Regions from separate parts of the Homo sapiens genome. Here all the other regions are linked to region 4. Evidence: promoter capture Hi-C in human tissues and cell types (Jung and others, 2019). All regions are on one chromosome and are shown on one strand. Each heading gives the region's core, a stretch centred on a gene start or on the middle of the fragment in contact. The rest is flanking DNA. Distances are from core to core; before and after follow the strand shown. Region 1 overlaps LOC105377862 (a long non-coding RNA gene). Region 2 overlaps LOC105377865 (a long non-coding RNA gene). Region 3 overlaps LOC105377862 (a long non-coding RNA gene). Region 4 holds the start of HTR1B (5-hydroxytryptamine receptor 1B).

Region 1 (7,018 bases), core at 3,961-6,460, 620 kb before region 4:
TCCAACAACATTTATCAAACATTCCATTTTATCTGATTTGATATAGATAGTAATCTTGGCTATATGCCAAGATAATACACACAATGTATTTTCCTCTTTTTCTAGAAAATGAAAAACCCCTATGAGAGGTTTTGCTGTGAAATGGAGCAAAGGAATGAGGAAATACCTGGACTGAAGTATAGAGCCAAGCCATGCCTATTCTAGCTCCAAAAAAAAATCTTGACTATTATAACTTCTCCATGGCCACAATGCCAAGACACTCTAGAAAGCATGTACACAAATTGAAGGCATGTTTCCATTGTCCAACATATCATCTTCTACATGAACAACTAGCTACCTCACTTGCTTGTCTTCCATTTTGCATTTTGACTTGCTTTCTCATCTTCACTCCCACATTCTATTACATTACAGTTTTAATATTTATCATATAATAATAAGATAAACATAATGTTAGATTCAAGGCTGGTTGGTCCAGCTGCTAATGAATGCATCAAGGATCCAGTTTATTTAATGTTGCTCTGAAATCCACCGAGTGTCATTTTTAAGGCTGATTCTCTTTGTGGTCATAAGGTGGCTGCCTGTTTTGGTCAGGTATGCTCCAATAAAAGAAGAAGCAAATTTATTCTTTGCTTAGTAGGCAGAAGAGTTTTCATTCACTTAAACTAGTGATGTTAAGCAGGATGATTGTGCTCTTAACCAACAGGGAGCATTTGGAAGTCGTTGGGAACATTTTGTTTGTTATATCTGAGGAAGGTCTTAATGACATTTGGTGTATAGAGGCCAGGGGTCCTTCTAAAAATCTTAAAATGTGAAGGCTATCTCCCTATAACAAAGAATTATCCGATTCAAAATATCACTAGGTTATACAAATCACATCAGTCTCTCTATAGAGAGTGATGATGTTTTCCCATTGTTCATCAAAGTAAGTTATTCATGCAATGCAATGCAAGCCACTGCATGATCTAGTCTCTATTGACCTCTCCACTTCATCCTTTGTCACTCTCTACTTTGCTCAGTATTTCAGACACAAAGCCCTTTACAATTTTCTCCTCAGGGACATCTCCTCTAATTACCCTATCTACTGCCACCATTTTCCTATGCTTTGGTGCCTTGTTTGTTTCCTCAATAGCAAATCACAATTTGTGACTGTATACTTATGTGTTTGTGACTCATTAATTTTTCCTCCTCTACATCTAATTATATTTAAAAATTCTGAAGTATGACTGTTTTCTTGGCCTCATAACAACTTTATTGTAACTAAAACATAGTAGATCCATGATAATCTTCTTTTGATATATGCATGTATATAAGAACACATAAACATACCTCCACATGCTATTTAAATATGCATACATAGGCAAATAATTTTGTAAATATATAAATAACATTTCTGAATAGTGAGATTGCTAGCAACATTTTTTTAACTTTTTGCTTATAGGTATTTTCTAATTTTTCTACTACAACCGTGTTATTTTTGTACTGAGAAAAAATAAATGTGAAAAAAAGAACAATTTCTCAAATTATTTTGGCCTAAAGTCTTAAAATAAATATAGTGCATAGTAACTTTACAGATTCAAGAAGCTTTAAAATATCCTCTAATATCTTGCTGGAATTGGTCCCATGAAACTATCTGAAATAGCAGATTATGGAAACATTTGTGGTTGTTTAGTACTCAATGGGAATACTTTCTCTTTTGGCAATGAGCAGATTGCTGTTTTGTTGTTGTTGTTTACATGTACTTTTCATGAAATTATACATAAGTACATATAAGTACATGTTTTCTCACAATAACACGCTTTATCTTTTAAAATCACAAAAAGAATGTATTTTTATTATATACATAATTTAATTATGTTATTAAAAATGACTGACACTTTGGTATCAGTTTAAACCAGATTTTAGAAAATTCAATGATTGCTTTTCTAAAGTAAACAGTGTTAGCATAAATCATCATTGGGAACAATTTTATATGTTCACTGAAGTGACACTTACTTTTTAAAAAATACAATTTACAAAGTAAAGCAAAGAAAACTGTATGGAGCACAGTGTTAAGAACTAGAGGGACAAAAAGAGGAAAAGTTCCAATGTTTGGAATAGTAAAGGGACTTCTACAGAGCTATACACACTTGATCTGGGACTTACTGAATCAGGGGTACAGGGTAGGATGAGAGTAGCTCAAACATTGTGAAGGAGGTAATGGTATTGAAAGCAAACATAGTCTATTTAGAAGCTTGTATTAAAGTAATTATAACCTGGAGTCCCATCGTGACTTATACAAGCTCTTGGATACAGATGTGTTTCAGAATTCAGATCTTTTTTATATTTCAGAAACACAGTAAGGCACACATACTCTATAACACTCAATGGGATCTGATAATGTACCCTGTAATCAAATGAATTAATTTTTCCAATAAAATAAATAAATATTTACACTATGTGGAATAAATATAGACTAGATACACTCTAAAGTCAGTCCAAGTCAGGCTTTGCTGTCAGATGTGTTCAGGTCAGGTCAGGGTTTGTTATAAAAGAAACTACACAGAAACATTCAAATTTGTAGCTTTGGAATTGTAGAGAAGGTGTTGTCAGCCTTATGTAACATTTATTGATAAATTATTATGTGCTATGCAAGTGCCTTACATGTTTTAACAACGGACGAGTAACAAGACCACTAAGTCAATACAGCTAGAAGGTCACATAGCTAGAAAGTGATGGGGCAGGGATTTGAATTGAGGCAATTTTTGATATATTACCTCTCTTACAATATACTCTAGCAACTTATCTATAGCTGCATGAAGGATTGAATGAAGGACAGGTTGGAAATGAGGCCAAAGAGATAGGATGCAGAAAAACTTTAAGAGTGAGGAGAGGGACACAGTAGAAATTAAATATCCAATGGTTATCCTCAATGAGGTTTTTCTAATCTATGGATTATCAGTTATTTTCAAACTATTTTCATTTTTGATGTGCAATGCAAATATTTCTTGGAAGATATAGCTGCAGAACAAATAAGCAAGCAAGCAAGCAGTATTTGACTGTTAATCCTTATTATTCTTAAATGAATTTCACTTAACGATTCTTAAATCCTAATCTTTCCACACCCAAAGCAAGCAGTTTAAATCACCTTCATGAAACTAAACCTTCCCAGTGTCCAAAAACAGCTTTTGAAAACGTAAAATGCCCTTGAACAACCAGTGTACTTTTGCCAAGAATATAAGGCAACCTTGGAGGCTCAAGGCGCTGGTGCTCCCGCTTGGTTATTTTTCCACACTTGAAAAGCCATCTCAAGCTTCTGGGAGTTGGAAGCTGCTTCTTATTCTACACTGCTTGTAAGGAGATGCAAAAACAATCGATGCTTGCTTCTGGAAAGCTGTTTACTAGCTTCTTCCATAATTCAGGGTGGCAGGCTATCTGACTCCTCAGGCTAAGATGTGGTATAATGGAAAGATGCAGGACCCAGAAAGAGAGGAAGCCTGATTTCTAACCCCAGGAAAGTCCTTACAGAGTGAGAAGACTAAGCTCTCATTTCTCTTCTCTCACCACAAGGTCCTCAGCTTTTGAGTGAGAGACTTGTCTAGCAGTATGTTTTGGGTTTTTTGTTTGTAGTGTTTATTATAATCATTTGATCATAGTATCTGCTATATTGTAAACATTATAAATATAGAAAATGTAGAAAATCCAGGTTTTGTTATTGTCAGGAATATAATATTTTTCGTCCATTCACATAACAAATATTTCTTGAGTAGCTACTTTTAGGCAATGCTAGATATTATAAAAAAAAAAACAGATAAAAATGTACAGAGTTTCTTTCCTTGTGGAAATCTAACCTAGTGAGAGCCATAGATGATTAAATAGATAATGACAATAGAGGGTAATCTGTACTGTGATGACTCCTGTGGGAGTGAGGAGGAGGCACCTAACTCCAAATCAGAGCACGATTTTTTTTTAACAGAGTGAAAAAAACATTATTTAAAACCCAAAGTGCCTTTGTTCTCCACTGTCTTCTAGTTGAAGCAGAGTAGTTAAGTAGTGGGAAGTTAAATCACTTTAGTATATGATTCTCATCTATCTTGCAACAGAGATTGATAAATAAAAAATAAAAGAAAAAGAAAGCTTTGAATAGGTCTCCTGTGCTAGCAAAGACTCATGTCTGGAGTGGATGGTCCTTTATTTTAGCAGGCAAGAGTGAACTGGGTAGCAGGAGCTAATGTTCTGCATAATAATGTGAAAAGAATTGAAATGCAGAAATTTTGCAGAGGAAAGATTCCTGCACAGCTTGGCAGAAAATGAGCACCGTCTTTTTAAAGAAAGATGGTTAAGTCTTAAAGCCTCATATTTTAGTAACTTTAAAGCTTATCTTTTACTTCAATACTTAATGAAGGCTGCTACATATTCAAAGATAAATATTAATGAAGTCATCTTGGGGTGCTATGATCTTAACATGTCCCCCAAAATTCATGTGTTGGAAACTTAATCACCAATGCCAACGGTGTTGGGAGGTGGTGGGGACTTTCAAGAGATGTTTAGGTCATGAGAGCTCTGCCTTCATTAATAGAGTAATATCAATGTAAAAAAATGGCTTTCAGGAGGGAGTTTTCTCACTCCTCTGCTCCTCTGCCATGTACGGGCATAGCATTTATCCTCTTTTCCCTTTCTGCCTTCTGCCATGTAAGGACACAGCAAGCATGCCCTCACTAGATGGTAGAGCCTTGGCCCTGGACTTCTTAGGTTCCAGAACTGTAAGAAATAAATTTCTGTTGCCTATAAATTACCCAGTCTCAGGTACTCTGTTATAGTAGCACAAGACAAACTAAGACATAGGGGAAATCAAAGAAAAGGAATAGGCATAGAAATTTATGGTGGCCAGGGGAGAGAAGGTGAGAAACAGCAGTAAGAGTTGAAAAATGACTGAAGTCATGGGTTCGGCGAGGGTAGTGGTTCCGGGTCAGAAGGCATCTGGTATATTTAAGTGCCTAGTACATCACAGAACTCTTGATTAGGTCACTGGACTTCCTTTAGAGTGTGGGATAAGAACTTGAACAAATATAATTTAAATCTTTCAGAGAATAGGCAGCCCAACTAGTGTCAGGGTTACAGTATTATAGGGTTACAGTATTATAGAGAAATATGAACACAGAAAACTTGACAGTCAGACATAAGGTCCCAGGGGAGACTGGATTCTGCCTAACGTCAATCTTCCTTTTCTCTATCTCAAAATGATTCACAGAATAGAAGAAAATGACTGTGTTCACAGAAAAAACAAATCAAAGGAATAATTACTTTTTTATCTTCCGTAAAATTCTAAGTATCAGATTCTTAAGCTGACTTAATGTATATTATGTATTGTTTTATATTACATTTGTTTTCTTTCAGTTTATATTCTAGAACTCTTTTTTTTTCCTCATAAGGTAAGCAAGATCATATAAATTAAGTCATCTGTTGGCATAGGCTAAACCAAGATGACTTGGTGCTGAAGTCACCTTATGCTGAGGCCCTAGGTTGAGGCTAAGGTACTTGTACTTTCCTCTACATCATGTTCCTTATGGGAATGTAAATCAAGGAGGACAGGCACAATGTCTATATTGCTTCCCAGCTATGAGTATTCTCAATTCTCAGCACAGTGTCTGTCACATAGTAGAATACTTTTGTTCATGTCTGTATAAAAGTAAGACAGACATTTATGTAATGATTATGAACTCTCACACATGTACTTGTGGTTATGGTTTTACTATGAGTATGCCCTCTATTTGAGATTTTTTTCTCTTATAATGATGAAGTTGCATTAATATGTTTAATATATATTCGTTATCACACAGATTTACTAATATATTGTGAAGGAGTGAGGCTGAGGTGCTAGGGTCACCTAAGATCAGGAATTTGAACAAAGCTAACTGGCCTTGCTGATAACAGGAACCAATAAGCTTTTTTTTTTTTTTTTGAGCAAGTGATCTTAGCAGCAATACAATGAAGTATTTTGAACTATGTAGCAAGATAAGTAATAAATACTGAAATGCGATGACTAATGAGTTTCAGAATTACAGTTCAGCAGTTATCAAGTTTTTTATAATGATTCTACTATGCTTTATGCCCCCAGTTGACACTGCATATAAAAGTACGTGTTAAGACTGAAACTGTCAGTATCTTCACACCTAGTTGTCCAAAAAATTTTTACTGGTTAATATATACCTTAAAATTAAGAGTGTAAACTGTGAGGGGGCTAATGTTGCTAGTTTTATCTTAAATAATCTAAAAATCCTGATGATAGATTTTAATTTTCATTTTTAAAGACATGTTTTTTCCTCAAGGTCTAAATGGGTATTTACATAATTTACAAATATAAATTATTAAATCATTGCTGGTTATGGATGTTCAGCCAAACATCAATGCATTGCTTTTTGACTTTTTGCAGCAGAACATCTCCACGTGAGTCTTTTCACCTCTTTTTTCCCAGCACGTTGGGGTTATAAAGCACCACAGCACCAAATAAGGCCATAATGGAAAAGCATTTTGACAGTTTAAAATGTGTTTTGACAGATCAGGTATTGCTTTTGAAGTGAACTTGAGAAACTTATGAATTTTTTATGGTTCACTGCATGCAACATGGTCTGACTACCAAAGATAAACATACTTGTAGAAAAAACACTAGGTGGATGGAAGGGAAACAAAAAATAAAATGCATAGATATTTATAATCAGTTCAGAACACTTTAAGTTACTCCCGGTGTCATTGCAGCAGGGCAGATACTTGATAAAAATATATAAGAAATGCAGAATCACCTGGATAATAAAACTGTAAATAATCTAATATGGCTTTCAAATTAGCACCAACCATATTATATAGCCTACATCAATTAAATGGATATAAATGTTGCCAGGCATCTCATCTGCTTTAATATTTGATATTGTATGAATATAGCTGTGTACTTATGAATCAAAGTGAATAAATAAATGTAGATAAAATTAAGAAATTGCAATCGATGTGACTAGCAAACCTGATGTTTCTAAAGCTGACTACCTGA
Region 2 (7,339 bases), core at 1,532-4,031, 770 kb after region 4:
TGTTCCCCTTCCTGTGTCCATGTGTTCTCATTGTTCAATTCCCACCTATGAGTGAGAATACGTGGTGTTTGGTTTTTTGTTCTTGCGATAGTTTACTGAGAATGATGATTTCCAATTTCATCCATGTCCCTATAAAGGACATGAACTCATCATTTTTTATGGCTGCATAGTATTCCATGGTGTATATGTGCCACATTTTCTTAATCCAGTCTATCATTTTTGGACATTTGGGTTGGGAAAAGACCAAATCTACGTCTGATTGGTGTACCTGAAAGTGAGGGGAGAATGGAACCAAGTTGGAAAACACTCTGCAGGATATTATCCAGGAGAACTTCTCCAATCTAGCAAGGCAGGCCAACATTCAGATTCAGGAAATAAAGAGAATGCCACAAAGATACTCCTCGAGAAGAGCAACTCCAAGACACATAATTGTCAGTTCACCAAAGTTGAAATGAAGGAAAAAAATGTTAAGGGCAGCCAGAGAGAAAGGTCGGGTTACTCACAAAGGGAAGCCCATCAGACTAACAGCGGATCTCTCAGCAGAAACTCTACAAACCAGAAGAGAGTGGGGGCCAATATTCAACATTCTTAAAGAAAAGAATTTTGAACCCAGAATTTCATATCCAGCCAAACTAAGCTTCATAAGTGAAGGAGAAATAAAATCCTTTACAGACAAGCAAATGCTGAGAGATTTTGTCACCACCATGCCTGCCCTAAAAGAGCTCCTGAAGGAAGCACTAAACATGGAAAGGAACAAGCGGTACCAGCCACTGCAAAATCATGTGAAATTGTAAAGACCATCAAGACTAGGAGGAAACTGCATCAACTAACGAGCAAAATAACCAGCTAGCATCATAATGACAGGATCAAATTCACACATAACAATATTAACTTTAAATGTAAATGGACTAAATGCTCCAATTAAAAGACACAGACTGGCAAATTGGATAAAGACTCAAGACCCATCAGTGTGCTGTATTCAGGAAACCCATCTCACATGCAGAGACACACATAGGCTCAAAATAAAAGGATGGAGGAAGACCTACCAAGCAAATGGAAAACAAAAAAAAGGCAGGGGTTGCAAACCTAGTATCAGATAAAACAGACTTTAAACCAACAAAGATCAAAAGAGACAAAGAAGGCCATTACATAATGGTAAAGGGATCAATTCAACAAGAAGAGCTAACTATCCTAAATATATATGCACCCAATACAGGAGCACCCAGATTCATAAAGCAAGTCCTGAGTGACATACAAAGAGACTTAGACTCCCACACAATAATAATGGGAGACTTTACCACCCCCCTGTCAAAGTTAGACAGATCAACAAGGCAGAAAGTTAACAAGGATACCCAGGAATGGAACTCAGCTCTGCACCAAGCAGACCTAATAGACATCTACAGAACTCTCCACCCCAAATCAACAGAATATACATTTTTTTCAGCACCACACCACACCTATTCCAAAATTGACCACATACTTGGAAGTAAAGCACTCCTCAGCAAATGTAAAAGATCAGAAATTGTAACAAACTGTCTCTCAGACCACAGTGCAATCAAACTAGAACTCAGGATTAAGAAACTCACTCAAAACCGCTCAACTACATGGAAACTGAACAACTTGCTCCTGAATGACTACTGGCTACATAACGAAATGAAGGCAGAAATAAAGATGTTCTTTGAAACCAACAAAAACAAAGACACAACATACCAGAATCTCTGGGACACATTCAAAGCAGTGTGTAGAGGGAAATTTATAGCACTAAATGCCCACAAGAGAAAGCAGGAAAGATCCAAAATTGACACCCTAACATCACAATTAAAGGAACTAGAAAAGCAAGAGCAAACACATTCAAAAGCTAGCAGAAGGCAAGAAATAACTAAAATCAGAGCAGAACTGAAGGAAATAGAGACACAAAAAACCCTTCAAAAAATTAATGAATCCAGGAGCTGGCTTTTTGAAAGGATCAACAAAATTGATAGACTGCTAGCAAGACTAATAAAGAAGAAAGAGAGAAGAATCAAATAGATGCAATAAAAAATGATAAAGGGGATATCACCACCTATCCCACAGAAATGCAAACTACCATCAGAGAATACTACAAACACCTCTACGCAAATATACTAGAAAATCTAGAAGAAATGGACAAATAATTCTTTAATTTCCATCTTGATTTCATTGTTGACCTAATGAAATTGAGAAGCAAGTTATTTAATTTTCATGTATTTGCATGATTTTGAAGGCTCCTTTTGGAGATGATTTCCAATTTTATTTCACTGTGGTCTGAGATAATACTTGATATAATTTCAATCTTCTAAAATTTATTGAGACTTGTTTTATGGCCTACCATATGGTCTATCTTGGAGAAACTTCCATGCACTGATGAATGTAATGTATATTCTGTGGTTGTTGAGTAGAATTTCTGTAAATATCTGTTAACTCCGTTTGTTCTAGGGTATAGTTTAAATCCATTGTTTCTTTGTTGATTTTCTGTCTCGATAACCTGTCTGGTGCTGTCAGTGGAATACTGAAGCGCTTCACTATTATTGTGTTGCTGTCTTTCTCATTTCTTATCTCTAGTAGTAATTGTTTTATAAATTTGGCAACTCCAGTGTTAGGTGCATATATATTTATGATTGTGATATTTTCCTATTGGACAAGGCCTTTTATCATTATATAATGTCCCTCTGTTTTCTTAAACTTCTGTTGCTTTAAAGTTTGTTTTGTCTGATATAATAGCTACTCCTGCTTACTTTTGGTGTCCATTTGCATGGAATGTCTTTTTCCACCCTGTTACCTTAAGTTTATGTGAGTCCTTATGGTTAGGTGAGTCTCTTGAAGGCAGCAGATATTTCATTGGTGAATTCTTACCCATTCTGCAAATCTGTATCTTTTTAGTGGAGCATTTAGGCCATTTACATTCAATGTTAGTATTGAGATGTGAGGTACTATTCCATTCATAATACTCTTTGTTGCCTGAATACCTTGGGTTTTTAACATTTATTTATTTATTGTATTTTTTTATAGGTCCTGTGGGATTCATGCTTTAAAAAGGTTCAGTTTTGATATGTTTCCAGGATTTGTTTCAAGATTTAGAGTATCTTTTAGCAGTTCTTGTAGTGCTGGCTTTGTAGTGATGAATTTTCTCAGCATTTGTTTGTCTGAAAAAGACTGTATCTTACCTTCATTTATGAAGCTTAGATTCGGTGGATACAAAACTCTTGGCTGATAATTGTTTTGTTTAAGGAGGCTAAAGATAGGGTCCCAATCCCTTCTAGCTTGTACAGTTTCTGCTGAGAAATCTGCTGTTAATCTGATAGGTTTTTCTTTACAGGTTACCTGGTACTTTTGCCTCACAGCTCTTAAGATTCTTTCCTTTGTCTTGACTTAGGTAGCCTGATGACTATGTGCCTAGGCGATGATCATTTTGTGATGAATTTCCCAGATGTTCTTTGAGCTCTTTGTATTTGGATGTCTAGATCTCTAGCAAGGCCAGGGAAGTTTTCCTCAATTATTCCCTCCAATATATTTTCCAAACTTTTAGATTTCTCTTCTTTCTCAGTAACACCAATTATTCTTAGGTTTGATTGTTTAACATAATCCCAAACTCCTTGGAGGCTTTTTTCATTTTTAAAATTCTTGTTTCTTTGTCTTTGTTGGATTGGGTTAATTTGAAAACCTCGTCTTTGAGCTCTGAATTTCTTTCTTATGTTTGTTCGATTCTGTTGCTATTTCCTTCATTTCCCAAAGTTGTGATTGTTTTCTATTTATGCTGTCTATTTCACTGAAGATTTCTCTTCTCATATCTTGTATCTTTTTTTTTTAATTTCCTTAAGATAGACTTTTTTTATTTCCTTAAGTTGAACTTCACCTTTCTCTGGTGCTTCATCAATTAGCTTAATAATTGACTTTCTGAATCCTTTTTCTGGCAATTCAGAGATTTCTTCTTGTTTGGATCCTTTGCTGGTGAGCTAGTTTGATTTTTTTAGGGGTGTTAAAGAACCTCATTTTGTCATATTATCAGAATTGTTTTTCTGGTTCCTTCTCATTTGGGTAGACTACGTCAGAGGGAAGATGTGGGGCCCAAGGCTTCTGTTCATTGTCTTTTGTTCAACAAGGTGCTCCCTTGATGTAGTACTCTCCCTATTTTCCTAGGGATGTGGTTTCCTGAGAGCTGAACTGTAGGGATTGTTACTTCTCTTCTGAATCTAACTACCCAGCAGGGCTACTAGGCTCAAGGCTAGTACTGGGGGCTGTCTGCAGAGAGCCCTGTGATGTGAACCATCTTCAGATCTCTCACCTCCCCTACTCTGCTAGAGGTGGCAGGGGAGTGAAATGGACTCTGTGAGGGTCCTTAATTGTAGCTGTTTAAGGTACTAGTTTTGTGCTAGTTGGCCTCCTGCCAGGAGGTGGCACTTTCAAGAGAGCATCAGCTATGGTAGTATGGGGAGGAACAGGCAATGGGTGGGGCCCTAGAACTCCCAAGGGAATATAACCTTTGTCTTCAGCTACCAGGGTGGGTAGACAAAGACCATCAGGTAAGGGCAGGGTTAAGTGCATCTGAGCTCAAGACTCTCCTTGGCGAGTCTTGCTGCAGCTTCTGTGGGGGATGCGGGTGTGGTTCCCAGGTCAATGGAGTTATATTCCCAGGAGGATTATGGCTGGCTCTGCTGAGTCATGGAGGTTGTCAAGTAGGTGGGGGAAAGTTGGCAGTTACAGGCCTCCCCCAGCTCCCACACAATCCAAAAGCCCGGTTTCATGCCCACTGTACCCTCCAAACAGCACCAAGTTTGTTTCCAGGCAGTAGGTAAGCAGGACTGAGAATTTGCCCCAGGCTACCAGTCTCCCAGCTGAGAAAGCAAGCAGAGCTTTCCTGCCTCCTTGCCTGTGGACTCTGCACACCAGATTCATGCCCTCCCCTGAGTTCTGGCCAGAACACTTTGCATTCAGTTGGAATTGTTACGAAGTTCAGCTGGTGGTTTCCTTCTCCCTGTGGTCTTTTCCCAGTTCCTCTGGCAGCCCCTCCCCAAGGACCTCTATGAGACAGTCAGAAGTGGCTTCCCTGGGGACCCAGAGAGCCCACAGGGCTTTACCTGCAGCTTTTTCTACCCTTGTATTTTTTTTATATATTTATTTATTTATTTTTAATTTTATTATTATTATACTTTAAGTTTTAGGGTACATGTGCACAACGTGCAGGTTTGTTACATATGTATACATGTGCCATGTTGGTGCGCTGCACCCATTAACTCATCATTTAGCTTTAGGTATATCTCCTAATGCTATCCCTCCCCCCTCCCCCTGCCCCACAACAGTCCCTGGTGTGTGATGTTCCCCTTCCTGTGTCCATGTGTTTTTATTGTTCAATTCCCACCTATGAGTGAGAACAGGCGGTGTTTGGTTTTTTGTCCTTGCGATAGTTTGCTGAGAATGATCGTTTCCAGTTTCATCCATGTCCCTACAAAGGACATGAACTCATCATTTTTTATGGCTGCATAGTATTCCATGGTGTATATGTGCCACATTTTCTTAATCCAATCTATTGTTGCTAGACATTTAGGTTGTTGCTCGGCTCTCTAAATTATCTCAGCTCCAGGTAAGATAAAATCCTTCTCCTGTGATCTGACTTTCAGGTTCCCCAGTGAGAGTGTGTGTTCAGAGATGGACAATCACCCTTTCCCAGTTTCACTGTTTGGACACTCACAGTATTTAGGCTGTCTCCTGGGTCCTCCAGGAGCAAACCACTCCTCCAAAGCGTCTGTAGATTCTCTCAGCTGTCCTAGTATATTCCTGGCAGGTAGTTCTTAGAGAAAGTGTTCACAATGTGAGACTCCACATGCTCCTCTTTCTGTCCAAGTGGGAGTGTAATTTATTCCTGCCTCCTATCCCTATTTTTTTTTTTTTTTTTGAGATGGAGTCTTGCTCTATCTGCCCAGGCTGGAGTGCAGTGGCACCATCTCAGCTCACTGCAACCTCTACCTCCATAGCTCAAGCGCTTCTCCTGCCTCAGCCTCCTGAGTAGCTGGGATTACAAGTTTGTGCCACCATGCTTGGCTAATTTTTGTGTTTTCAGTATAGACAGTGTTTCACCATGTTGGCCAGGCTGATCTCAAACTCCTGACCTCAAGTGATCCACCCACCTCAGCCTCCCAACATGCTGAGATTACAGGGGTGAGCCACCGTACCTGGTATGGAGCTAGTTTTAAGTATGTTTAATCAACCAATGACAACTCACTTCAGTAAATATGGTTTTATGAAGTAACCAAATATGGTTCTGTGAAGTAACCAAACAGCAAAAGCCCTTCACATCTGAAAGTCAGCCAATCAGGTAAAGACCCAATGACCACGCATCTGAGTGCCAGGCAATCAACAACAGTCATATACAAATAACCACATAACTACAGTGATGTTAAATTACTCCATGTTCTCTGAAAATCTGCTAGTCATTGAACTTCATCATTTTCCAAAACTCTATAGAAGATTAGCATTCTTCTCTGCTTAGAGACACTGTGCCTGGCTTATACCTCCATCAAACTCTGTGGCCCCTCTTACATTCATATCAGGAGCTCCTAAGCCACCGATATGATGTCAGTGGGATCCACAGAACCCAATTTGAAAACATATGGTGTATACATTATGACAGTGCACTGAAAAAGATTGTTTAAGATTCTACAAGTAATCATATTTTGTCAAGTTTGGTGAGGTTTAAAAAGCATAAACTAAAATATCAGACAGCAGTGGCATATAAGTTGGGGAAGGGGTCAAAATTCAGCAACCTAAATCTTAGATTATTTAAGTTGGAGATATTAATTTCTTAAATTTGTCTGCATGTTAAAAAAAATTCAAAGGCAATCATTAAGTAAACGACATAAAATGTGTAACTTCCATTCCAGAAAAAGAGAAACAAAGCAACAAAATAATCTGGATAATCCAATACGAGGAAGGAAAGGAAAAAAAAAAAAAGAAGCAAAGAAATGTATTATCAGTGATGTTCTAGAGCCAGCTTATAGTCTTTCAGCAGCTTTCAAGAGCTGCTATGCACATCTCTTTTCATCTTTTCAAATCTACTTCAGTTACTTCATGTCGGTTGCTTGAATTCTGCCATCTTGACAGTATTTACATCAAGGAAATAATCAAATGCTACAAATTAATAATCAAATGCTTTTGTTTCAGAGAGCCTGTGTTTTGTATTTGTTTAGAAGATATCCACATAAAAATAGTAGAGTTGAAAAAATATGAACTTGATGTTGAGAACTAGTGACACTGAGCAGAGACAATTCTTATAAGGAGGTAGCTTCAATTGCGTAGTTGTTACAGAGTGGCATAGGGCCAAGGAGAA
Region 3 (7,191 bases), core at 4,306-6,805, 570 kb before region 4:
GAATAAATAGGGCCTCTGTGGGAGATTTTAGGATCCTAGAAAATAGCATTTTGAATTATTACCTGCTTTTATAATGTTCATGAGTTAATGTTTCCCAAAGGATCTAAATGTTTCTCAATACGTATTTTCTGCCAAGTTGGAAACTGTTCTTGCATTGTTGTATTTTCTTTGGCCAGAAAGATTCTGGAGGCAATTTGAAACCAATGCTTATATCCAGAGACCAGACTAAGACCACCAAGTATTTAAGAAACCTGACTTTAACCAGCAAATGCCCATTTAATCCCTTGAAGATCGTATGGGATTTTTTTCAATTAATTTCTAAGCTAATTTACTAATAATGCTATAATAAAGCCAGCCCATATCCAAAAAGGGGAGAATAATTTGTCAATTTTTTTATTCATGCTCTGTGTGTAGTTTAACTGACCGGTACAATTATAAGTTGCTTATTTTTCAATGTGGATTTTTTTAATATGTAGAATTATTGATAGGCTTGTTTCAAGAGAGCCTAGGCACATGCGATTCTAATCATGAGGGTCTATGCTTGCCTGACTATGGATATGTTTGAAGGTCAAAATGCAGTTAAGCATAAGAAATATCATTAAGTGTTGGTCAATACAAAGCTTAAATCAGGTACTAGCAGTGACTCAAAGAAACACTCCAGCCTTAAATTGCTCAAATAACTGACAATCTAATAATAGAAATATTTAAAATACATGTGATTAGTTGTAGGTTTTAAAATATCATTTTAAGATTTTCTTCATGTATTCAACTTTGTTATATTTAGTTCATCTTTCCATTCTTCTCCTTTCACCATGGGTCCATTGAATATCTGACCACTTCCAGATATTAGCAAGATCACATAAGCAGAAGGTGAGGCAGAATCTCATGTTATTAGGCCAGGAAGAAGTGCATGTGTCTTTACGTTATCTTGTGTTAGGTGCTTTGCCACCCGCCCTCATCCCCAGCCTCCTGAAGGAACCCATGGGAGACCTGCTTATAGGGAATGCAGTCCTTGAAGAGGGGCCAACTGGCAGCTTGTTCACGGAAACAGATAATCTATTCAAGCAGCAAAAATCTTGATTGATCTACTTGCCCTTCATTACACCCTTACACCATCTGCCTCTGCCAAGAGATCAAAGAGTCATGAAAAAAGAAGGAGTTGGAGTGTAAAGTTGTCCTAAGTATTGGGGAGCCTGCTTTCTAAAAGAAGGAATAAGCCTGTTAGACCCACTTGTAGAAGACAAGGAGAGCCAAAGAGGAGTTATAAACAGGGAGACCTGAATTTAAATATAAAAAATTAGACATTTCCCATGATAGAAGCTTTCTATTTAGCCCGCCTAGAAATTAAGTAAACCACATTTGCCTAGAGGTATTGAACTAGGATCTGAGTTATCATATGATAGGAATACTACAGAAGGCATCTTAATACTAGGTAGAAGATGGAACTGGATAAACTTCTAATTTATTAGGTAGAAGATGGGACTGATAAAGTTCTAAATTTAAAGTTCTACGATATTATTTTTTAAAAATAATATTTTTATCTGCCATTATCAAAGTCAAAAACAAAAGACAAGGAAGAAAATAAAAAATGTCCATAAAAATCACATCCCTTAAAAAACAGTATTGTTACAATTGCTGTGTATCATTCTACACTTTTCCCCCTGTGCATTTCACTGATGTAGAAACTCCACATACAAAAACTCATTTCAATAAAAATGGATTTTTATGACATTAAGCTTAATTTTTTACTTAAAATATAATATATGTCTTTCTTGATCAACAAATGAGCTCCACATCAAATAATTTAAATAATGCATAGAATTTCATGTGGTGAAACAAACTATTTATTTGCTGTTTTTAAACTTTGTTTTCTATCTGCATTTTCCTGCAGTTTACAAATAACTATAGGATCAACATTTTTTACAAGAAAATAATCTTGCACATTTTTGTAAGTTGTAAGTGGTTTAATTTGTTTTCCCCAAATCATAAAACATAATTTCATAATTTGGTCCTTATCGAGTAAAATGAAATTCTTTTTTAATGACTAAGGGACACACATGAAGGCAAATAGTACCAACCCATTTCGGGTTGGCAGATGCTATAAAAGGGAAGACTATTTTCTTTACCTTCTAATTAATTGCCTGTGAGTTAGATATTTTTCAGAACCCCATGTTACCTTGTATTTAATACCACCACTATCCCTTTTAGCTAAATGTACTGAAAAGAGAAGAAGATGCAGTGTCTAGGAATTTAGTATTATTCTCAAATGGCATTGAATCTAAAATGGAAAGCTTTTTTTTGAACAGATATATTACATTTCTGTCCCCTTCACTAAATCCTGGCCAATCTGGAGGATGTGTAACAGGAAAGTATATATGTAGCACAAGGAAAAAATCAATAAACTGGGGACTTGGAATTGATTTTACTTTGCTACATTTCTAGGAAAAAGCCAGATCATTGGCAATAGTCCTGAAAGAGAGTGTCTTAGCTCCTTTGTGTTGCTGCAAAGGAATGCCTGAGGCTGGGTAATTTATAAGGAAAAGAGGTTTATTTGGCTCATGATTCTGAAGGCTGTGCAAGAAGCATAGTGCCAGCATCTGTTTCTGGTGAGGGTGTCAGGCTGCTTCCACTCATGAAGCCAGTGCATGCACAGACCACATAGCAAAAAAGAAAGCCAAGAAGGAGAGAAGGGAGGTGACACACTGTTTTTAATAAATAGCTCTCGCAAGAACTAAGAGAGTGAGAACTCATTCATTACCATTAGGATGGCACCAACCCATTCATAAGGGATCCACCCCCATGACGAAAACACCTCCCATTGGGCCCCACCTCTAACACTAGCGATCCAATTACAACATGAGATTTGGGAGAGTCAAACAAACTAAACTATAGCAGAGGGACTTTACATTAAAATATGTATCCTACTAAAATTATATAATATTTGCAATATTCTTAATTCTTGTAAAATAATTCAATGTAAAGGCTTGAAGCAATTTACAAAATCTAAATTCATTCAATGTTTGCTTTGTAAGGATGAACTGAAGAGATATTTGTTATGCTGTTTTTTTTATGCTGCTGTATTTTTTCTAAAATTCTCTCTAGAATACAGCATACTGTTTTTTAAGGATCTTTCCTAGTTTTTCTGTTTTAGTTTTAATTATGTCTTTTATCTATATCTGTATGTTACTTCCCTAAACTGTACCATTCCCTTTTATTCCTTTCAAAAACTGCTTTTTATCTTTCTATAGTCAAAGAATATGATTTTACTTCACAGTTTGATATATTTCCTCTGGCCATTTTTAATAACCTGGTGAAATAATACCTCTTTATAATTAGGACATAAATAATTTATTTATTTAAACATTCTGATAAAAATAGACCTACAGGTAGGTACCAGGTGGACTAAGCAAAATGTTGATAATAAAGACCCAAGAGTGCTTATTTTGGTGACCATAGGCAAGTTTTATACTTTTCAAATGTCAAAGGTGTTAATTAATTTTACTCTTTCCAAGATAGAAAATAATGCTTACGGAAGGTTCATTGCTTGTTACAAATTAATGCTACATAGGAATTAATACCAGGAAAAATGAATACACATAAGGGAAAGAAAAGCTTGATTAACTACACAGATGGATATGTGGAGCACAGAGATGAAATGAGGGTTTAGGAGTTACCACTGCACTAAGAGTTGCCCTTTCCCCTTATGCTTACAACGTTAGCACAGACAAAGCCTTCTCTTGAATTATTTTACCTTAGCAAATTACTACTTTCAATTGTATATGCAAAGCTTGCTTATTGCTTTCTGTTCTGTCTGCACATCTTTGCATTCTGTTCTTGTTCTGTCCCGCAGGATTAGTAGCCAGGTTATTCTTTCAGTCAAATCATGACCCTAGTGTAGGTTTGTTACCATCATGTTAAACAGCCTTCATGTCACGGTATGAAAAATTCTTGATCCAAACTTTGCTTTTCACTCATGCTAGTTGTCATATGAAAAATACCTTCAGCTGCAAATAAGAAAAAAACCTGTAACAGTAGCTTAAACAAATAATGAGTTTGTTGATTTCCACTATTTTCACCATGCATGCTCTTCTTTCACAGGATTGTTGCTTCATAGTCCCAAATGGCTGCTACAGTTTTGGACATCACATCTACATTTTAATCACTAGCCCTTAGATAATTACCCACTATCTTCGTAGAACTCACCTCATTTCATTATTTTTAGTTCTAAATAGCCATTTATTTCATATCATTTATTTCATGCCATTATTTCTGTCATTATGCCAGACTTTGCCCTTCTTCTCAGATTAAAATCATTTCTACATAAACAGGCATAAAAATGTCTGACAACTTTATAACATTTTGTCGTTTATACTTTCTAAATGCTAGACATCATAATTCTAAAGATAGTGCTATTAGTTGATTTTTATTTTTACATAGATACACCTACAGCTTTTTCAAAGTACTGAAATAGTAAAACAGAAAGGATCCCAAAGTAATTATTTCTTCAAGCATGAAGATACAGTTAGGCATCTTAACTGATGTAAGTCTGTGTACATATACATTTTTAGGCATCACTGTTATTACAGTGCTAATTTCTAGGAGGACAAGTTCTTTTCATATTTAACACTTTATCTTCAGCAACTAAAACCTCCTGGCATATTGTAAGTCTTATAAAAATGAATAAATGTATCATTTTTCATTTATGCTTTGCATGATCATTTTTTGCATATTTTATTTGTTTGGTTTACGAATTTATGTATTACATAGTTCAAAGGGCCATTTATTTTTACTTCTGAAGTCCTGATATTCATTAATAGACTTATTTCCTAAAGGGATATCTAACCACTGTGGACAAAAAACATTAAATTTCAAGGTTTTCCTGACTTTGAAACATTATGTCTATACATTTGATATATGAAGGCAAACCTAGTCCCTGTTATTTGGTGGGCACAGCCCACGGATACTGAATTTACCATCATGTATTGAAAATTATTTGAGTTAACAAACAAATTTACAAGAAAAAAACAAACAACCCCATCAAAAAGTGGGCGAAGGACATGAACAGACACTTCTCAAAAGAAGACATTTATGCAGCCAAAAAACACATGAAAAAATGCTCATCATCACTGGCCATCAGAGAAATGCAAATCAAAACCACAATGAGATACCATCTCACACCAGTTAGAATGGCAATCATTAAAAAGTCAGGAAACAACAGGTGCTGGAGAGGATGTGGAGAAATAGGGACACTTTTACACTGTTGGTGGGACTGTAAACTAGTTCAACCATTGTGGAAGTCAGTGTGGCGATTCCTCAGGGATCTAGAACTTGAAATACCATTTGATCCAGCCATCCCATTACTGGGTATATACCCAAAGGACTATAAATCATGCTGCTATAAAGACACATGCACACGTATGTTTATTGCGGCACTATTCACAATAGCAAAGACTTGGAACCAACCCAAATGTCCAACAATGATAGACTGGATTAAGAAAATGTGGCACATATACACCATGGAATACTATGCAGCCATAAAAAATGATGAGTTCATGTCCTTTGTAGGGACATGGATGAAATTGGAAATCATCATTCTCAGTAAACTATCGCAAGAACAAAAAGCCAAACACTGCATATTCTCACTCATAGGTGGGAATTGAACAATGAGAACACATGGACACAGGAAAGGGAACATCACACTCTGGGGACTGTTGTGGGGTGGGGGGAGGGGGGAGGGATAGCATTAGGAGATATACCTAATGCTAAATGATAAGTTAATGGGTGCAGCGCACCAGCATGGCACATGTATACATCTGTAACTAACCTGCACATTGTGTACATGTACCCTAAAACTTAAAGTATAATAATAATAAAATATAAAAAAAGAAAATTATTTGAGTTACAACATAGAAAGGTAAGTATTCATCCTAATTTCAATTTCAAACAAAAGCAGTATGAATATACTATATGTGAAGAAAGAAAATGATTTTTTGCCTACTGCATGGCAGGCTAATTTTCAGATCAAAAAGATCATACACTTAAATATCCTCTTTGAAATCTTCCTAAAAGGTACAGGAAATTGTGTACTTAAAGAAGATATAATTAAAAAAATACTGACTGAGCATGTTGAGACTTTATTCTTCATGCCATTTTTATTTTAGCGTTTTCTACTTATATTCAGCTTGTCCCATTTTCTAGCATTTTCTACTTATATTCAGCTTGTCCCAGTTTGACTTAATAAAATTCCAGTGGAAACCATTTTTTCTTCAGAATAGTGCATTGGAACCATCAAGAGATCTGCTGAGAATCCCTCTAGAGAGAACACTGAATAGATTGAGAAAGAACTGGTGATTCACACTTAAATAATTGTACAAAACATATAAAGTTTTTACTCTTTTAACTGCTGATAAAAGTGACATTCTGCATACTCTCCATGTGTGTTCTCATTTACTGGCAATAACTTCTTATGGAACTATCAAAAGCAAGGCAAAAGAAATAAACAAAAACACTTTTAATAAAAATGCAAGTGAAATATATATTCGGGCTTGAGATTTATTCTACTTGAAGATTAACATAATAGTTTCAGCATTTTCCTCTGCATGAGCATCGGTTTTGCATTGCAAATAATTGGTAGTATATACTTAGGAATTTTGGAAATGAAGTAGCTCGAAGGAGGCATTACTACCATCATCACTGTCTGCTTGTCTGTGATGCCTGGGGACTGACCAGCAGAAAGTTTGGTCTTTTCTTTCCATTTCCCACAGCAAAATATACATAGACTTTCATGAGCAGAAATTTCTTAAGTATGTTTAAAGAACAATTGCTAATATTTTGTGATGGCTTACTGTAATTCAGGAATTGTCTTAGCGAAGGACTTTCCATATAATTATTCTTGCAAAAATCCTAGCGTAAGTATAGCTTTGTCTATATTGTGTGAATAAGAAAACTGAGCTACAAGATGATAAAGCAGCTTGCCTAAGGTCATACAGTCAGTAATCAGAACAGAAATTTGAATATAGCTCTGGGTTCTTAATTTCTATTCTGCAGGAATGGGTGAACCTCACATAACTACTAAATACTTTCAGGAAATTTTAAGATCAAAATATTTCTCTGAGGTTAATCAAAGTAATATATATTTTTAACACTTTTTTCGTGGTACAGATAAAATCTTTATATTTTTATGTATTGTAT
Region 4 (7,410 bases), core at 2,303-4,802:
GGACACCATCATTGCAGGTACCCTATAAAGAAATCATTTGAAAGTGGCTATTTGTTTCAATTAATGTTTCCCCCTAAGGCTCTTAGAAGTTGACTTAATTGCCTCTTAGGACCAAAGAAAATACAACTGTATAAACAGAAGACCACAGTATTAATAACATAAAAACAAACACCACGCTCTATGCACATTCCTCCATAGGAGAAATATCACAAAAAGCAAACAAAGAAACTTGGGATCCAGCAGAAGTATAGGCAAATCTAATGCCTAAAATTTTCTCTCACACCAGTGACAGGTATAAATATTGATCAAAACTCCCCTTTTTAGTTAGCTTATGTGTGAATCTTTGAATAGTATATTTTCAAGAGTGATTACTCAAGGTGAAGGTCTGCACAGTAGGCAAGCAGTGTACTTCAGCTCAATGTATTTATTGTCTGACAAACAGGACTGGGGAGTTTCAAGCAAGGAGTGAATCCATTTCACAAAGACAACTTGCTTCTGCAGACAAAAGGTATCAACTGCAGAATGCCCTCTGAGGAAAGGAGTGTGAATTTTCTTTGGCATGTTAAATGCTGTACATATACATTTTTTTCCGTGCAGATAATCCCTCAGGGCTACTTCTTATTAAAATATACATTTTTTTCATATTTTATTTCATGACTTTATCCTGTATTAGGGAGCTCTCAGAGGAAATTTGAAATAACTAAGTATTCTTGAAATTTGAAAAGACTGATAAATTTAAAGTATTCCAGATATTATATTAATTGAGATATCAGGTTGGTAACAAATTTACAAAGGTCAAAAGCTTGCCAGTTTCCTGATTGTTAGTAAGTCTGAGGTTTGGTTCTGCAATTTTTTCTTTTTTAAACAAACAAAAAACAAGACAAAAACAGGCTCAATTTTAGTTTCTCTAAGCTTTTCTAAAGTTCTTATATGTCATTTTCTAGCAATCTTTTCTCCTGCCCAAACTTCAATAACAACAACAACAAAAAAGAAACAAGTTTATTTTCTTTTCAATATCGTTTTTAGGGCCCTTAACTGTATTTTTAAGGTTTCTGGAGAAGGAAGATAGTTCTCTTGGTTTCTTTATATGTTAGCACACAAGGAATCACAGATGGGAAGGAGAGTGCAAATGACTATCAGATAAAAGTTTCATGCATTTTAAGATTTTTTTACAAGTCAAAATATACATCCTCCTATTGCCCCCACCCCATTCCTCAATTGTGTAAGAACTATCCCCATGTCATCAGTCTCCTTCACATCTCACTAAATTGGATAAGAAATAAAGACACTTTTCTTGTTAAGAAACAGTATATTTCCAATACTAATCGGTTTTACCAATTGCATTAGTAAGAAATATAGCAGCAGTGTGGGCTGAGTCACCCATCATACCCTTCATTTATGGGGATTTAAATGTGTAAAGTGACAGGTACATGAAATTAAGAGAAAAAATAAAGCAGTCTGCAGACTTCGGCACTAGCACACATAATGGTTTGTTTGTTAGAGTTGTGGCTTGACAATCGCTAAACAGGAATTACAAAATTGTAAATCTGCAGAAAACAAACAATCATAGGTGTTGATTCTCAGTTTAACACTCCTCATCTCCCATTCCCACCCACCCACCCCCATATAGTTTCAAGTATAATAAAAATAGAGATCTCAGCATCAGAATTTTGCTGTTAACTCTTCAAGGTTTCTCTGCGCCATCCAAGCCACACATAGGGTTTGAAGCACCAAATCCACAAGTTTCTCCAACCAAGTTTAAATAGACAAAAAGTGAAGACTGAATGATGCCAAAGTAACTGTTCTTAAATTAAGCTGTAACACAAAGTTCTCCCCCCAAAAACACAGGGCATTAAGCGTCTAGTTCAAGTACTGCCAGGCTGTATGTAGATCTGTCTCAGACAGGCTTCAGACAACAATTACAAGTACACTGCTTCTAGTGGGCATTATCCACGATACCAAAGCAGGGCAGGGATTCCCTTCCATTATCAATTTTTAAAAGTTGCAACCCCCTTTGGGATTGGCTGCCGCAGGGTCAGTGCTGAGCCCGGGGCTTGAGGGGAGGAAGTGAGCCTCCTCCTGGGCAGGGAAGCTCTACATTTAGTTTCAACACTTCTCCTTTCAGAGCTCTCTCTCAGGACTATTCTGGCTTCTCAGGATCCATTGCCCTTGCCCAGGAGAGAGAGCCTCGCTGGGACCCAGAAACCGCGAAAGAAGATTCGACCTACCTGTGGAACCAGACACAACTTGGTCCCCAAAGGTCGCTTAGGCGACCCCACTGCAAACGGCAAGTCAACTTGTGCACTTAAAACGTATCAGTTTATGGAATGCTTGTTTAAAGTCCTCATTGGACATGGTATAGATTATGGGGTTGATGAGGGAGTTGAGATAGCCCAGCCATGTGAAGAAGTCAAAGATGGCTAGGTGGAACCAGCAGGCATCTTTGCAGATAGGCATCACTAGGGAGATGATGAAGAAGGGTAGCCAACACACAATAAAGGCTCCCAAAATGATCCCTAGGGTCTTGGTGGCTTTGCGCTCCCTAGCGGCCATGAGTTTCTTCTTTTCCAGCAGGGCGTCGGAGACTCGCACTTTGACTTGGTTCACATACACAGGAGATCCGGATTCGCTGGGCACGTCGGGAACCCGCGAGTTAATAGAGGTGACCGAGGACGTGGACCCGGGGGAGTCGGTTATCAGCTGGGCTCGGGTCAAGCGCTTGCCGGTCCTGTTGGGCGTCTGTTTCAAAATCCGGGAGCGGGCTTCTACGTAGATGCGGCCATAGAGGGCGATGAGGAGCAGGGTGGGGAAGTAGAAAGCACCCACCGTGGAGTAGACCGTGTAGAGGATGTGGTCGGTGTTCACCACGCATTCCGACACCTCCTCTTCGGCCTTAGCCTGACGCCAGAAGAAGGGCGGCAGCGAGATAGAGATGGAGAAGACCCACACCAGCGCGATCATGACCGCCGCCCTCTTGGGAGTCCTTTTAGCTGAGTACTCCACGGCGTCCGTGATGGCCCAGTAGCGGTCCAGGGCGATGACACAGAGGTGCAGGATGGAGGCAGTGCAACAAGTGATGTCCGACGACAGCCAGAAGTCACAGACCACCTGGCCCAGTGTCCAGCGGCCGGTGACAGTGTACATGGTGCTGATGGGCATCACCAGGATGGACACAAGCAGGTCGGTGACCGCCAGAGAGGCGATCAGGTAGTTAGCCGGGGTGTGCAGTTTCCGGGTCCGGTACACTGTGGCAATCACAAAGGCATTGGAGAGCGTGGTGGCCAAGGTGATGAGCGCCAATAGCATAACCAGCAGTACTTTCCAGGGTAGGGAGATGGAGTCCTGGTAAATGTAGTCCTTGGCGCTGCAGTTTTGGGAGGGAGCAGAGGATAAGTTGGCTTGAGGAACCCAGGTCTCGGAGCCCGCGGGCGGCGGTGGAGCGCACTGAGCACCCGGTTCCTCCATGGCTCTCCTCGCCCCAGCTCCGGAGCGCAGCTCTTGGGCATGGAGCGGACGAAGGAGAGGGCGGAAGGACCGTGGCGATCGCAGGTTTGTCCCCAGTTGATAGTTCCGTGAGTTCCTCAATTATTCCTCCGCCCAGGTTCACAGCTGAAACTAGAGGTCATGGGTGCGGCAGCCAAGGCAGGCGGGCGCCTCCCCTGCACTTCCAGAGCGCCTAGCTAAGCCGCCGCGTCTGTGGTTGTTCCTCTCCACACCGGGTCTTAGACCTGGGTTGCTAAGAGCTGGCCCACCGAGCCCTGCTCCGCTCCAGCTCCCTGGAGGCGTCTAGTGCAGGAGGGTGAAGTACTGCTTGAGGAGAAGGCTTTGACCAAATGGGATCTCTTACCCCAGTTGCTTGAGGCTGAGCGTCTCCTAACCTGGACGCTTTTGGATCTGCAGACTTTGCCCACAGGAGTTTCCTAGGTGTAGAGACCAAAGCTTGCAGGCCAGCGAGAGGTCCCGAGATCTTGCATTCCCACCCCTCGCCCCAAGCTGGGGCACTTTTGGGGGGCTGCAGCGGCCGCCAGAGCTGGGTGGGGTGAAGTCTAGGAGCAGCGCTGCGCCGCGCCTCGCGCCGGAGCTCTGCCCTCCCTCTCTTTTCACTCTCTGGCCACTCGGACGAGCTGCCCCGCGGAGACGGAGCCATAAAAGGGGGGACACGGGGGCTGGAGTTGCGGCTGCTCGGGCCGCGCCGCCGCCACCGCCACCCTGGTCCCACGGGAGCCACTCGGAGCCATGCCACTGGGTGCGCGGGTCTGGAGGACCTGGCGCGGCACACTGGGAAGGGGCAGGTGTCTGGGGGAGCTGGAGGGACGCGGCGTGCACCAGCCCGGGAGAAGCGTGCGAGCTACGGAGCAGATGGGCTCTTTATATAGAGTCCAGGTCCGGTCCGCCAGAGCAGTGCAACTCGTGCGGCGCGGCGGGTGCGGACGCCCGCTCCCCATCACCTTCCCTTTTTCTCTCTCCCTCCCTCTTTTCCCCCCGCCCTGTTCCTTTCCTGGCCAAGGAAGCTCCCGCCGGGTCCTACCGCCCTATCTCCCCGCTTCCCACCCTGGGCCATCCTCCCAGCCCTGACAACCTGGAGCTGCATTTCTGGTCAGGGGAAGAAGGCGTCCTGTTCTCGCCTCTACGGACATCAGAGCTTGCTGCGCTGACCTCCAGTGAGACCCATGTCCTTAGCCATGGTCACAGGTTTAGTCCAGCAGTCTGGCCCTAGGCTCCTGCCTACCACTCCCACCCTAGGAGGCCAGTGTTAGGCGGGGAAGCCCTGGTCTCTGACCTCTCCGCTCTAAAATCATATCCAGCCCTGATGGCCACACCCAGGTTAGGAGGCACCAGTAATATCGCTGTAGAGGGCCCAATGTTTGCATTTTGTACTTTGCCGTCCTTAACTCTTGATACAATAAAAACTATTTTTTCATCTAGTTTTAGAAATTTGTGTTTTTCACTCAACTATGAGTCAACAGGGAAAAAGACAAGCTATCTGCGAAAATGTAAAAGTTATCACAAACAGAAGCCAACTGTATGTGAAATTAAACCTTCTGCTCCACCATCCTCTTCCAGCTGCTCAGTGCTTCAGTGCCTCTGGAAAACAGTTGCCAGTAAGCGTGTTCCTTCCAACAGCCTACCTAGAAAGGAGGTCATCAGAATTCAAGAAAAAAGGGGGATGGTGGGGCGGGGAGGACTGGAACCATCATCAGCACCATCTTGTGTGTCTCCTTTGCCTTCAACTAATATGTGGGAATGTCAGCCATAAGCTGCAGCATGCAATACCAGTACCTAGGTCTCATGACCAGGGACGGATCCCCTGTCCTCAGTTTCTCCTCTGACCTCAACAGAAACAAATGTAGGGTAGAGATGCAAATCAGAAAGTATGAAGAAAAGCTCCAGGAAAGGACAAGGTATTTTCAGCTCGAAGGATTAAATGATCCCCACTACGAATTCCTAGAGCCTAGATCCATGTTTGGCACCTAGAGTGTATCTAATAAAAACTGCATTGTAAATGAATTCATCTGTTTAAGCGCACATATATTTTAAAGAGAATCATTCTGTGTCAGAACCTAAGGCTATCTGATCTGATCCCTCCACCCAGTTTTAGAGGAAGAGTAATTGAGATCCTTTGAAAGAAGAGCTTTTTACCCAAGGCAATAAAGCACAAACCCAAGTTCCCTTAATTCCCGGTTCTCTAAACCAGGCAAGCAGGCAAAAAATAGAGTGCCTACTCTATGCTGAGTATTTTTCTAGGCATCCGAGGTATGGAGGCCAGTGGGAGTAGACTCAGACCCTCTTTTCCAGCAGTTTACATTCTAGAAGAGACAGACAATAACTACATGAACAAGTAAATAATTAATACTTATACTTTTCTGTAGTGTTAAGTGTTTTGAAGAAAAACACACATACACACATGCATGCATTGAGAGTGAGGGTACTCCTTTAACTAAGGTGGCAGCTCTTCAAGGACGTCCTCTAGATGCGGTCTGGGCTGCAGCAGCCACCCTGAGGATAAAAGCACAGCCTTCTCTCTTTTTCTCCTCCAGTCCTAGCACCTAGCATTTTGCCACCAACCTTAAGCCTCATTTTCACCACATTTTAAGGGATCCTTCCCATTCTCCCACCCCATCCACCTAGATAAACAATTATTTTTGTCAACTGCAGCGCTCACTTAGAAACCATAGAAGAGGGAAGCAAAGCCGGCGAGTTTAAACCGCTAGGTGGGGGCATTGGCCAGGACGGATCAAAAGTGTGTGCGATTGCGGGTGTGTCCTGTGGGAGTGCGGGGTGCCAGGAAACAATTTTCCCGTTATCCTAGGAGAACTGGAAACGATTAGAGACAAGTGTTAAAGGGATGGGAAGCGGGGGAAGGCCGACAGGAATGTAACCAGCTCCATGCGACCTTTCCTCTTTTAATTTCTGCTCGGGAGCATGGGACGGAGAAAAAACAAAGCAAAATTTGTTCCCCACACGGTTTTTGGCTTTAGCGGTTTGGGGACCTGTGGCTTTCTCCAGCCATGCCTCCACTGCTTCGCAGAGTCCCAGACTCCCAGAGGAATCCGCCCCTTGTAGGCAGTTTGATTTTACCCTCTTTGGTAAAGAGCTGCTTAAACACACACCGCCATCATATTGACCGGATGTTGGCAGAGTTCAGTGAAGAACCCCATTTCCTTAACCTGACTTCCGCATTTCAAGTATTCCTTTCTCACTTTAAAACACATAAAACATAGGTGTTTGCACAGAGGCGCATGTGTGTGAAACACCCAAGAGAGAAAGAGACCCTGTAAAGTCGCCTGTGCCTGGGTCACCCCTTCGGAGTAGGGGTCGCTGGGTAAGGTCCAAGTGCCAGCTCTGCAGTCCCCAGCGGCGCTAGAAGGAACCTCCAGGCAAGTTTTGGGGGAAATTCACCTGACAGGGGAGGAGCAGAGAGGGAATCAGTAGCGGAAGGGAAAGGGTGGAGATGGATTACCTGAGCGCAGCAAAACTTAGTTGAGTAGAAATAAGCTCCCGTATGAACACCGGGCACTAAAACTGCGAATTAATGTGGTTCCCTTATTATCAATTCCACGCACGTGTACGTTTGGCAGAAGCTGAGTAAGTGGAGAATAACTCTGGAACTGAAATGAAGTCAGTGAACCGACACAAAACCAGATCCTAGCGGTGAGCTGGCTGCGGAGGAACCAAAGAAAAATGAATCCTCGAGGAACCCTCTCCCATGCTAGGAAGATGTAGTTCTACAGCTGCAGCACCAAATTCGAGGCGCAGGCTGGGAAGTTTAAAGCGCAGCGCTAACCAGACTGGACACTGTCAAGGGAAGCATACTCTGCCTACAGCAACCACAAGAGATATCTCACGGAATTTATTGCAACTCAACTCTATGTAAGCTGGCAGTCAGCTAACCTTAGTCAGCCCTAGCCA

What was found. Contacts are between HindIII fragments. The study calls those that stand out against the background at their distance.
Region 1: a contact is called between a fragment that was not itself captured here and the fragment with the promoter of HTR1B in region 4, in 1 of the 25 tissues and cell types used here (aorta).
Region 2: a contact is called between a fragment that was not itself captured here and the fragment with the promoter of HTR1B in region 4, in 1 of the 25 tissues and cell types used here (lymphoblastoid cells).
Region 3: a fragment that was not itself captured here is called in contact with the fragment with the promoter of HTR1B in region 4 in 1 of the 25 tissues and cell types used here (dorsolateral prefrontal cortex).

Annotation. Positions count from the first base shown.
Region 1 is chr6:76,834,543-76,841,560 of GRCh38, forward strand. The region is part of intron 2 of LOC105377862 (a long non-coding RNA gene); the gene reads left to right. Among named protein-coding and RNA genes, the nearest start is that of LINC02540, 240 kb to the left of the region's middle. The HindIII fragment of the contact is 4,902 bases long and covers 2,760-7,018 here.
Region 2 is chr6:78,226,414-78,233,752 of GRCh38, forward strand. All of the region lies in intron 1 of LOC105377865 (a long non-coding RNA gene), which reads right to left. Among named protein-coding and RNA genes, the nearest start is that of MIR10524, 310 kb to the right of the region's middle. The HindIII fragment of the contact is 7,053 bases long and covers 1-6,308 here.
Region 3 is chr6:76,886,086-76,893,276 of GRCh38, forward strand. All of the region lies in intron 2 of LOC105377862 (a long non-coding RNA gene), which reads left to right. Among named protein-coding and RNA genes, the nearest start is that of LINC02540, 300 kb to the left of the region's middle. The HindIII fragment of the contact is 9,171 bases long and covers 971-7,191 here.
Region 4 is chr6:77,459,939-77,467,348 of GRCh38, forward strand. It overlaps HTR1B (5-hydroxytryptamine receptor 1B), which reads right to left and starts at 3,553. Exons shown (of 1, transcript NM_000863.3): 1 at 986-3,553. The coding sequence starts at 3,465. The coding sequence ends at 2,293. The region is part of intron 5 of LOC105377864; the gene reads left to right. RefSeq lists a silencer at 2,419-2,563 and enhancers at 6,283-6,332, 6,543-6,602. The HindIII fragment of the contact is 6,434 bases long and covers 337-6,770 here.